Linked DNA regions of Homo sapiens: all the other regions are linked to region 1. Evidence: promoter capture Hi-C in 16 types of primary human blood cells and fetal thymus (Javierre and others, 2016). All regions are on one chromosome and are shown on one strand. Each heading gives the region's core, a stretch centred on a gene start or on the middle of the fragment in contact. The rest is flanking DNA. Distances are from core to core; before and after follow the strand shown.

Region 1 (3,334 bases), core at 670-3,169:
ACAGACAAAAACCTCTCACTTCTCAGCCTAAAAATGTAAGCAAAAGTCTAGTTGAGGATTTTGTGTCCTCAGATGTCCCTACTGGGTTATTTTCTCTCTTAAAACAAAACAACAACAACAAAAAACACCTAAACCTTGGTTTATTCCAGTAGGTACCTGTAGTGGCACCATACACCAGCAGCTGTGGGACCAGATGGATGCTGAGGCCCTCCCTGGCAATATCCCTGGGATTCTATGGGCTCTGCCTCCAAATCTCATCCAGTTCCACTTCAGTATCTAGACCCAAGGATTACTGAGCCAGGCCACCTGAAAGCTACCAGCCCTCCCAGAACACAGACTCCACTTTCTCCATCAGCCTTAGGGGCTACACATCCCAGCCTGCCCCCATGTACCTTTATCTGTTTGATTTCATACCGGAGCATTTTTTCAGTGTCAGCAGGGTCTGCACTGGCCGGAACTACCTTCTCACTGGAGATTTTGGCCCGAATCACTGCATAGGAAGAGAAAAGAGGGAACCTTCAGCAGCTGGTGGGGGCAATACACCTGAGGTCTGGATGATCCAGGGTCCATGAAGAAGTCTATAGGGCAGTTCTTGGTTTTGGTGTGGCTGGGTTGTGAGCAACGTGATGTGTGAGAAGGGGGACCTGGAAACACCTCCCCTGCAGTCACTGGAAGTTCCAAACCCCTCAGGCTTATTAGGTCCTATAACCGCTAAGCTGTTTCTGCCTTTTGAACCAGTTAGTCTGGAGAGCTCTAGTTCTCCATAGCCGTTTGTGCAGTGGGGCACAGGGTAGGAGTCAGAGTAGAGAAGGGAGGAGGAGCCCCTTCAGGGCAGTCGGTGTGAAGTTTATCTATTGCTGTGGTCAAGGCCTCTCATCCCGCCTACAGTTGATATTAGTAAATGTTTATTGAATTCATAAATGTTCTGACCCTGCACTGAGGTATTGCATCTCTTGCCATTTGAGCATTAATAACCAAAAACTGTTGATGATGTTCTTCCTCTGTGCCTGGCCTTGCACTAGGCACTAGGCCCATAGATGTGATTAAGACAGGGTCCCCATCCTGCCGAGCTCTTGATCTAGTGGAGTGCACACGTGTAAAGAACAACAGCACAGCATAGTAGGAGCGCTAAGACGGTTAGAGATGCTGAGGCGGCACCAAGGAGCCCGGGAGCCTGCAGAGAAGGGGAGAGACCTAAGTTAGCCCTTGAAGGATGAGTAGGAGTCTGCCAGGAATTTAAGGGTGTGAGGGAGGGCATTCCAGGCAGAGGGAAGAGAAAGGACAGAACGTGTGTGTTGCCATAGGGGCTTGGTGGCAACCTCAGTTATAGGCCTGGACAGACACGGGTAGTTACAATGCAAGCCCTCTCCCCTCCCCTTTCTGTCCCCAGTCTAGTAGTTCAGAATAATCATCAGATAGCTCCGGTGACACCTTGTGTAATGACACTCCATAATTGCAGTATGGCCGGAGTGAGGGAGGTCGCTATGGAAGTCCCTGATGAAATCTTCATTTCCTTATGAATCAGTCAGGTTCTGGGCTTGCAAGGTTGCTATGGCGCCTGGTCCTTCTCCACCCATCAGCCTCAGCAAGAGACAACCGGTAAGAATTTGAGCTCCTCCCTTTTCCTCTGGACTCCTGGTGTACTGCTGGCCAGATACTAATCCCCCACAACCACCCCCTGCTGTGGACCTCGCGGACCTCGGACTCACCAAGTGCCGAGTGGCAGATGTGCTGCTGAGGGTGCGCCGGGGCGCAGCTGCATGCCTCACCCAGCCCCGGGGGCCGCAGCAACGCCAGCAGCCGCAGCAACAGCACCCAGCTTGGCGCGGGCCGAGGGCTCCCAGGCATGACACTGCAGATCCGCGACTGAGCCTGTGAGGTCTGGGGGACTGGACGGCCCCAGCAGGGCTCCTTCCCAAGGCCGTTGTGCCCCTCGCCCCAGGCTTTATGAGGTGGCCCTAAGGGCCAATCCCGCCCCGACGGGCTCCGCCTTCCTTTGGCTCTAGGCCACCCGCGGAGGCAGGACCCGAGGCTCTTCCGACCTGCATACTCAGTAAGATGCAGAGGGAAGCCTGGAAGGAGGCCCTGACCTCTGTTTCCCTGCCTAAGTCATGAAGCGATCTGGAAGCAGAGGGGAAGCACTGGGAGAGGGGATGGTGTCAAGGGCAGAAAGACGGAAAGAGCCACAAAGACAAATGCATGAGGACAGAAAAACTGAGGGCTGTGATTCAGGCAGAAAGAACAAGAGTGAGGAGAGGCACAGACAGAAAGAGTGAGACAGGCAGAGTCCCAGAGAGGCAGACAGAATTACAACAGGCAAAAGAGACAGTGACAGAGAAGGACGGACCCCTTGCTGAGCTGCACGCTGGGAATGAGACGAGCTACTCAGGGCTTCTTTCAGCTGCAGGAAGTGCTTTCAATGCCCTATTTATGAGGCTCCAAAGCAACAGCAAACAGTAATAGAACAGGACAGAGAAAGTTGGGGTGTGTGTGTCTTGGCTCTGTTGCCTGGGGGGTGGGGAGAGATGTCAAAGAAGCAGCCAGTGCTTTAGAAACCCTTTCTCACTCCCAGAGCCTCAGACTCTCCAGATAGCTGGAGACAGCGCTCTTGGTGTACAAAACACAAAGTGTCCCATCACTTAGGGCAAACCTTGGACCTCAAAGCCCTCTCGAGGCCCTAGACTACATTGATTTTTATTGCATGTCCCTTCTCACTGGAGACTCTGTCATGTTCTAGAAGGTGGGACAGCTTAGAAAACAAAGAAGCAGGCTGGGCGTGGTGGCTCACGCCTGTAATCTCAGCACTTTGGGAAGCCAAGGCGGGTTGATCACCTGAGGTCAGGAGTTCGAGATCACCCTAGCCATCATGATGAAACTCCGTCCCTACTAAAAATACAAAAGTTAGCCGGGCGTGGTGGCCTACACCTGTAGTCCCAGGTACTCAGGAGGCTGAGGCAAGAGAATGGCTTGAACCCAGGAGGCGGAGGTTGAAGTGAGCTGAGACTGTGCCACTGCACTCCAGTCTGGGCGACAGAGTGAGACTCCGTCTCAAAAAAAAAAAAAAAAAAAAAAAAGTAAAAGAAAAAACAAAGAAGCAGGGGACTTGGGGGTGACTGTGACCAGAGCCTTGTCTGCTGTTTGGGCACAGTGTTGCAAGCCTCCAAATCCCAAATCTCCATGGGATTATTGCTGTGGGATGTTTCCACATGGTGCTGGACTGGATAGTGGGAGGCTGGGTTCCAATTCTGACTGTCACTGTAGCTTTGTGACTTTTGCCTCTCTGGGCCTCAGTTTTTTCTTCATAAAGTAGAGTTGAACTACGTGATTTCTAAAG
Region 2 (2,889 bases), core at 55-2,554, 210 kb after region 1:
CTGTCTTTGCTCCAGTGTATTACCCTGGTTTCTTCATCAAAGATCAGCTGACTACATTTATGTGGTCCTATTTCTGGGCTCTGTATTCTGTTCCTTTGATCTATTTGTCTATTCTTTTGCCAGTACCGTACTATCTTAATTACTTTAACTTTCTAGTAAGGCTTGAAGTCAGGTAATGTCAGTCCTTCGACTTTATTCTTCTTCTTTAATATTGAGTTGGCTATTACGGGTCTTTTGCTTCTCCATATAAACTGCAGAACCAGTTTGCCAATATCCACAAAATAACTTGCTGGGATTGTTATTGTGATTGCATTGAATCTATAGATCAAGTTGGGATGAATGACATCTTGACAATACTGAGTCTTCCTATCCATGAGCATGCAGTGTCTCTCCATTTATTTCATTCTTTGATATCTTTCATCAGAGTTTTGTAGTTTTCCTATATAGGTTTCATATATATTTTATTAAATTTATACTTAAGTATTTTACTTTTCGGGGTGCTAATGTAAAACAAAACAGACATTATGAGGAAAATGTAATGTCTGTTTGGGGGTAATGTGTTTTTAATATTAAATTTCGCTTGTTCATTGCTGGTATATAGGAAAGCATTATGACTTTTGTATATTAACCTTGTATCCTGCAACCTTGCTATAATCACTTACTAGGTCCAGGAGATTTTTTTTTTTTCTGTTCTTTTGGATTTTTTTATGTAGAAGTCATGTCATTTGCAAACAAAGACAGTTTTATTTTTACCTTCCCAATCTGTATCCCTTTTATTTCCTTTTCTTGTCTTGTTACGTTAGCTAAGACTTCTAGTATGATGTTGAAAAGCAGTAGTGAGAGAAGATATCCTTGCCTTATTCCTAATCTTAGTGGGAAAGCTTGAGTTTCTCACCATTACTTATGATGTTAACTATATGTTTTGTTTGTAGATGTTCCTAAGTTTAGGAAGTTTTCTTATTTTGTCAAATTCTTTTTCTGCATTTATTGATATGATCATGTGATTTTTCTTCTTTAGGCTATGGGTGTGATGGATTACATTAATTTGTTTTCTAATGTTGAACCAACCCCACATACCTTAGCTAAATCTCACTTGGCCATGGTGTATAATTCTTTTCATACATTATCGGATTCAATTTGCTGATATTTTGTTAAAGATTTCTGCATGTCTGTCCATGAGAGATTGGTCTATAGGGTTTATTTTCCTTGTAATGTCTGTTTTGTTTTAGTATTAGGGTAATTCTAGCCTCATTGAATGAGTTAGGAAGTATTCCCTCTGCTTTTATATTCTGAAAGAGATTTCAGAGAATTGGTATAATTTCTTCCTTAAATGTTTGGTAGAATTCACCAGTGAACCCAGTCCGGTGCCTTCTGTTTCAGAAGGTTATTAGTTATTGATTCAATTTCATTAATAAATGTAGGCCTATTCCATTTCTCTATTTCATCTTGTATGAGTTTTGGAAAATTATGTCTTTCAAGGAATGAGTTCATTTCACCTAGATTATCAAATTTGTGAGCATAGAGCCTATTATCCTTTAATGTCAATGAGATCTGTAATGATACCCCTCTTTCATTTCTGAATAACTTTCATTCATTCTTCACGTACTAGACAAAGTAGAATTTCAACTAAACCAAAGCAACTGTTCAACAGATTTAGCCTTAGTCCTAATCAGATTATTAGTAATATCTCCCTTTAGAAATATATGAAGGTACTTTTAGCAGAGGAACCAAGCTTGAGCTAGTTTGACCATAATGAATTTTTGCTGAGGAAGCAGAAGAAATGTTTATATTGGTGAGGGCATAATCCTGTAATCTTTTCTGTGTCCTGATACCTCAGGACCAGCGTAAGCAAACTCCCTAGACAAGATGTGGCTCATGCAAGAGGAAATATGCTTTTGAAAATGAACATGGGCCAAGCATAGTGACTCATGCCTGTAATCCCAACACTTTGGGAGGCTGAGGCGGGAGGATTGCTTGAGTCCGGGAGTTTGAGAATAGCCTGGGCAACATAATGATACCTTGCCTCTACAAAAAAAAAAATAAAAATAAAAAAATAAAAATAAAAAAATTAGATGAATGTGGTGGTGAATGCCTGTGGTCCCAGCTACTTGGAAGGCTGAAGTGGAAGGATCACTTCAGCACAGGGAGGTCGAGGCTTCAGTGAACCATAATTGTGCCACTGCACTCCAGCCTGCATGACAGAGTGAGACCCTGCCTCAAAAAATAATAGTAAAATTAAATAAAATATAATAAAAAACATGGTCTTTCTAATACCCTTTGTTGATCTGAATTTGAAAATTTCCTGTGAGACCTTCTGGCTTATTATAAAGAAATTTGCATCTAAAGATACATATTGGAATGTTTCAATCTCAAAGCTATCAATGGGAAATCAAACTTCAGAAACATTGAATTTGGTTTTGAATATAGTCTAAGTAGACAATAAAATGAAAATACATTTGTTTATATTGAAGAAGCAAATGACACACCAAATAGTTAATTTCTAATAGTTTTCATTTTTTTCTTTTTCTTTTTTGTTTTTTTTTCAGACAGTGTCTCTCTCTGTTGCCCAGGCTGGAGTGCACTGGCATGAACTCGGCTCACTGCAACCTCCATCTCCCGAGTTCAAGTGATTCTCCTGCCTCAGTCTCCCAAGTAGCTGGGACTACAGGCCTGCGCCACCACGCCCGGCTAATTTTTGTATTTTTGGTAGAGACAGGGTTTCACCATGTAGGCCAGGCTGGTCTCGAACTCCTGACCTCAGGTGATCCTCCCACCTTGTCTTCCCAAAGTGCTGGGATTACAAACGTGAGCCACCACGCCCAGCCTCTAATCATTTTCTTAATTCATGGTGCCCAAAATAAAAGATTCTATATTCAGAGAAACCATGAC
Region 3 (3,055 bases), core at 132-2,631, 240 kb after region 1:
TTTTTTGAGATGGAGTCTCGCTCTGTCGCCCAGTCTGGAGTACAATGGTACAATCTTGGCTCACTGCAACCTCCGCCTCCCAGGTTCAAGCAATTCTCCTGCCTTAGCCTCCTGAGTAGCTGGGATTACAGGTGCCCGAAACCATACCCAGCTGATTTTTGTATTTTTAGTAAAGATGGGGCTTCACCATGTTGGCCAAGATGGTCTCGAACTCCTGACCTCAGGTGATCCACCCACCTCAGCCTCCCAAAGTGCTAGGATTACAGGCGTGAGCTACCACACTGGCCTTGTCCTCTTTATTTTTAATAAAATTATTTAGTCATTAAGAATTTTGGCTTGTGGGCCAGGCATGGTGGCTCATGCCTATAATCCCAGCACTTTGGGAGGCCGAGGTCAGAGGACCACTTGAGCTGAGGAGTTCGAGACCAGCCTGGGAAACATGACAAGACTCCATATCTACTAAAACTACAAAAAATTAGTCGGGCGTGATGGCTTGTGCCTGTGGTTTCAGCTACTCGGGAGTCTGGAGTGGGAAGATCGCTTTAGCCCAGGGGGTGGAAGTTGCAGTGAGCCATGATTGCACCACTGCACTCCAGTCTGGGTAACAGAGCAAGACCCAGTCTCAAAAAAAAAAAAAAAAAAAGAATTGTGACTAGTGAATAATTCATATTCAGAGCTCTTTTTAATGTATGAACTAAATAATAAAATAGTAAGTTTAGGCTAAGTGCCCTTTTTATTTTTAAAATTTTCTGTATTTATTATTACTATTTTTAGAGATGGAGTCTCCCTGTGTTGCTTAGGCTGGGCTCACCTCAGCATCTGGAGTTGCTGAAACTATAGGCATGTGCCACTGCACCTGACCTATTTAAGAAAATAATCTAGAGAAGAATTGACATGTTATTTATGAATCATTCAGTTAGGTTTTCTCTATAACATTGAGATTTGGTTAAAAATATGTTTTTCATAAATTTAAAAACTATTGAAATCTTAGCTTTGCTGACTAGGATGTCTTATTATATAAATGAGAGAGAGTTTGTAATTTTTTAAAAAAAACTGACAACTTTCAAAATAGTTTCTCAGTGGCTTCATAAAAATCCAGAAAAAAAGATTTCACAAATTTTTGTGACACTCAACATTTTTAAGGTAGTTCTCTCAGTGCCTTGCAAACAGCAGCTCTAGTGTATATTGAGAAAAGGAAAAATTCTGAATGGCAAATACTAGATTTCAACTTTAACCTATTCCTTTTTATTATTATTATTATTATTATTATTATTATTATTATTATTATTATTATTGAGACAAAGTCTCGCTCTGTTGCCCAGGCTGGAGTGCAGTGGCGCGATCTAGGCTCACTGCAAGCTCCACCTCCCGGATTCACACCATTCTCCTGCCTCACCCTCCTGAGTAGCTGGGACTACAGGCGCCTGCCACCATGCCCGGCTAATTTTTTGTATTTTTAGTAGAGACGGGGTTTCACCGTGTTAGCCAGGATGGTCGCGATCTCCTGACCTCATGATCTGCCCACCTCAGCCTCTCAAAGTGCTGGGATTACAGGCGTGAGCCACCGCGTCTGGCTAACCTATTCCTTTTTTTTCTTTAGTCTTCTTGGTTGTGTAAAGAAAAATTACCCAAATCTTAACTTTCAGAAAAGGTAACAAACTCCTAATGCATGTGGCAGTACATGTTTGCTCCAGCTGCCCTGTCCCTCTACCCTGCGTGGACTCCAGAACCGCCCATGTTGGAGCCCACCTCCTCTCCCCACCCCTGCCCACTTTCCACTCACACCTCAGGCAAACCCTGCATTTTGCTGTTCCTGGAAAATGGCTTATGCTTGGATACCTCTGGGCCTCTGTTGATGCGTCTGTCTGTTCCTTGTGGAAATTCTTCCTGACATTCAAGGCTGCATTCAAATGCCTTCCTTCCCATGAGACTTTTCTGATTCCCTGCTCTTCCTTTTCTATGTGTTTCATACCTTCCTGTGATATCACATTCTGCCTTAAAAAGCAAGAGAGTGATCAGATACATATTACCAAAAAAAAAAAAATACCGATAGCAGTAAAAATGATAGAGAAAAGACTGGAATTGGGAAATCCATCTGAAGACCAATGCAATATTAGGAAATAAGACATTGAGAAGGGTGAGAAGAAAGGAAATTGAGAGAAATATCAGAGCAGTGACCAATGAATAAAAGCGCCTGAAGGGAGAGAAGTTGTCAAAGATTATTTAGGATATCTAATTTGGGTGATAGAATGAATTAACCAAGAGAGGAACACAGGAATAAGAGCCAGTTTGGAGGAGAAAATTTTAAATTCAGTTTTATATTGTGTTAGAGATGCCTATAGAGTATCCAGCAACTACGTATAGAGGAATATAGGAGGATGTGAAAAATAAGGCTCCAAATTTCAGTGAAGAGAGAGCAGGAATCATCAGCACCCATTGTAGGTTAGAGAGGTCACACTAGGGACCACAGAATACAAGCTAAGGGAGAGGCACCATCAGAGAGATCTGGAGAGCAGCTGGCAGAATGTTAGAGGACCCAGAACAGCAGGAACCAGGACAAGAAATTTTGGAAATAAGAGGGCGGAGATGGTCACCAGAATTAAAGGCTGGGAGAATACTGAAGAGCTCAAGTCTATTGAGAACTTAGAAGAGGCCATTAGTTCTGGCCGAGAGAAAAGCATTCAGGATTTTTACAAAGTTTTGGTAAATCCCAGTGAGCGCAAAGCTAGACTGCAGTAGATCGAGAAGTGAATAGAAAGTGACAAACACAGACGGAGTGAAAACAACTCTTTCAGTAAGTTCAGTGGTGGAGGAAAGATAGCTTAAAGAGGAGGTAATAGTAGAGTCAGAACCTTCAACCTGGGCAGAAAGGCCAGAGCCAGTACAGAGAGGCACACTAGAGAAAGACTCATCTGTGTAATATACCCAGTCTCCCCTACCAGACATGTCCTTTCCATCCTTTCCCCCAGCCCCATCTGTGCAGCACAGTGTTGCATCAACGAAGTGTTCAGTGAATGAATTAAAGGTTGTCAGGAAGACTTCAGGGAATCAGAGA

The links. Contacts are between HindIII fragments. The CHiCAGO score rates a contact against its expected background, and 5 or more counts as called.
Region 2: a contact is called between a fragment that was not itself captured here and the fragment with the promoter of TIMP4 in region 1, in 1 of 17 cell types (M2 macrophages). The highest score is 5.2, in M2 macrophages.
Region 3: a contact is called between a fragment that was not itself captured here and the fragment with the promoter of TIMP4 in region 1, in 3 of 17 cell types (M1 macrophages, monocytes and M2 macrophages). The highest score is 5.5, in M1 macrophages.

The regions. Positions count from the first base shown.
Region 1 is chr3:12,156,993-12,160,326 of GRCh38, forward strand. TIMP4 (TIMP metallopeptidase inhibitor 4) reads right to left here and starts at 1,920. Exons shown (of 5, transcript NM_003256.4): 1 at 1,710-1,920; 2 at 393-490. The coding sequence starts at 1,848. All of the region lies in intron 5 of SYN2 (synapsin II), which reads left to right. The HindIII fragment of the contact is 8,121 bases long and covers 1-3,334 here.
Region 2 is chr3:12,365,657-12,368,545 of GRCh38, forward strand. The region is part of intron 2 of PPARG (peroxisome proliferator activated receptor gamma); the gene reads left to right. Among named protein-coding and RNA genes, the nearest start is that of PPARG, 78 kb to the left of the region's middle. The HindIII fragment of the contact is 851 bases long and covers 880-1,730 here.
Region 3 is chr3:12,396,134-12,399,188 of GRCh38, forward strand. The region is part of intron 5 of PPARG (peroxisome proliferator activated receptor gamma); the gene reads left to right. Among named protein-coding and RNA genes, the nearest start is that of TSEN2, 87 kb to the right of the region's middle. The HindIII fragment of the contact is 6,825 bases long and covers 1-3,055 here.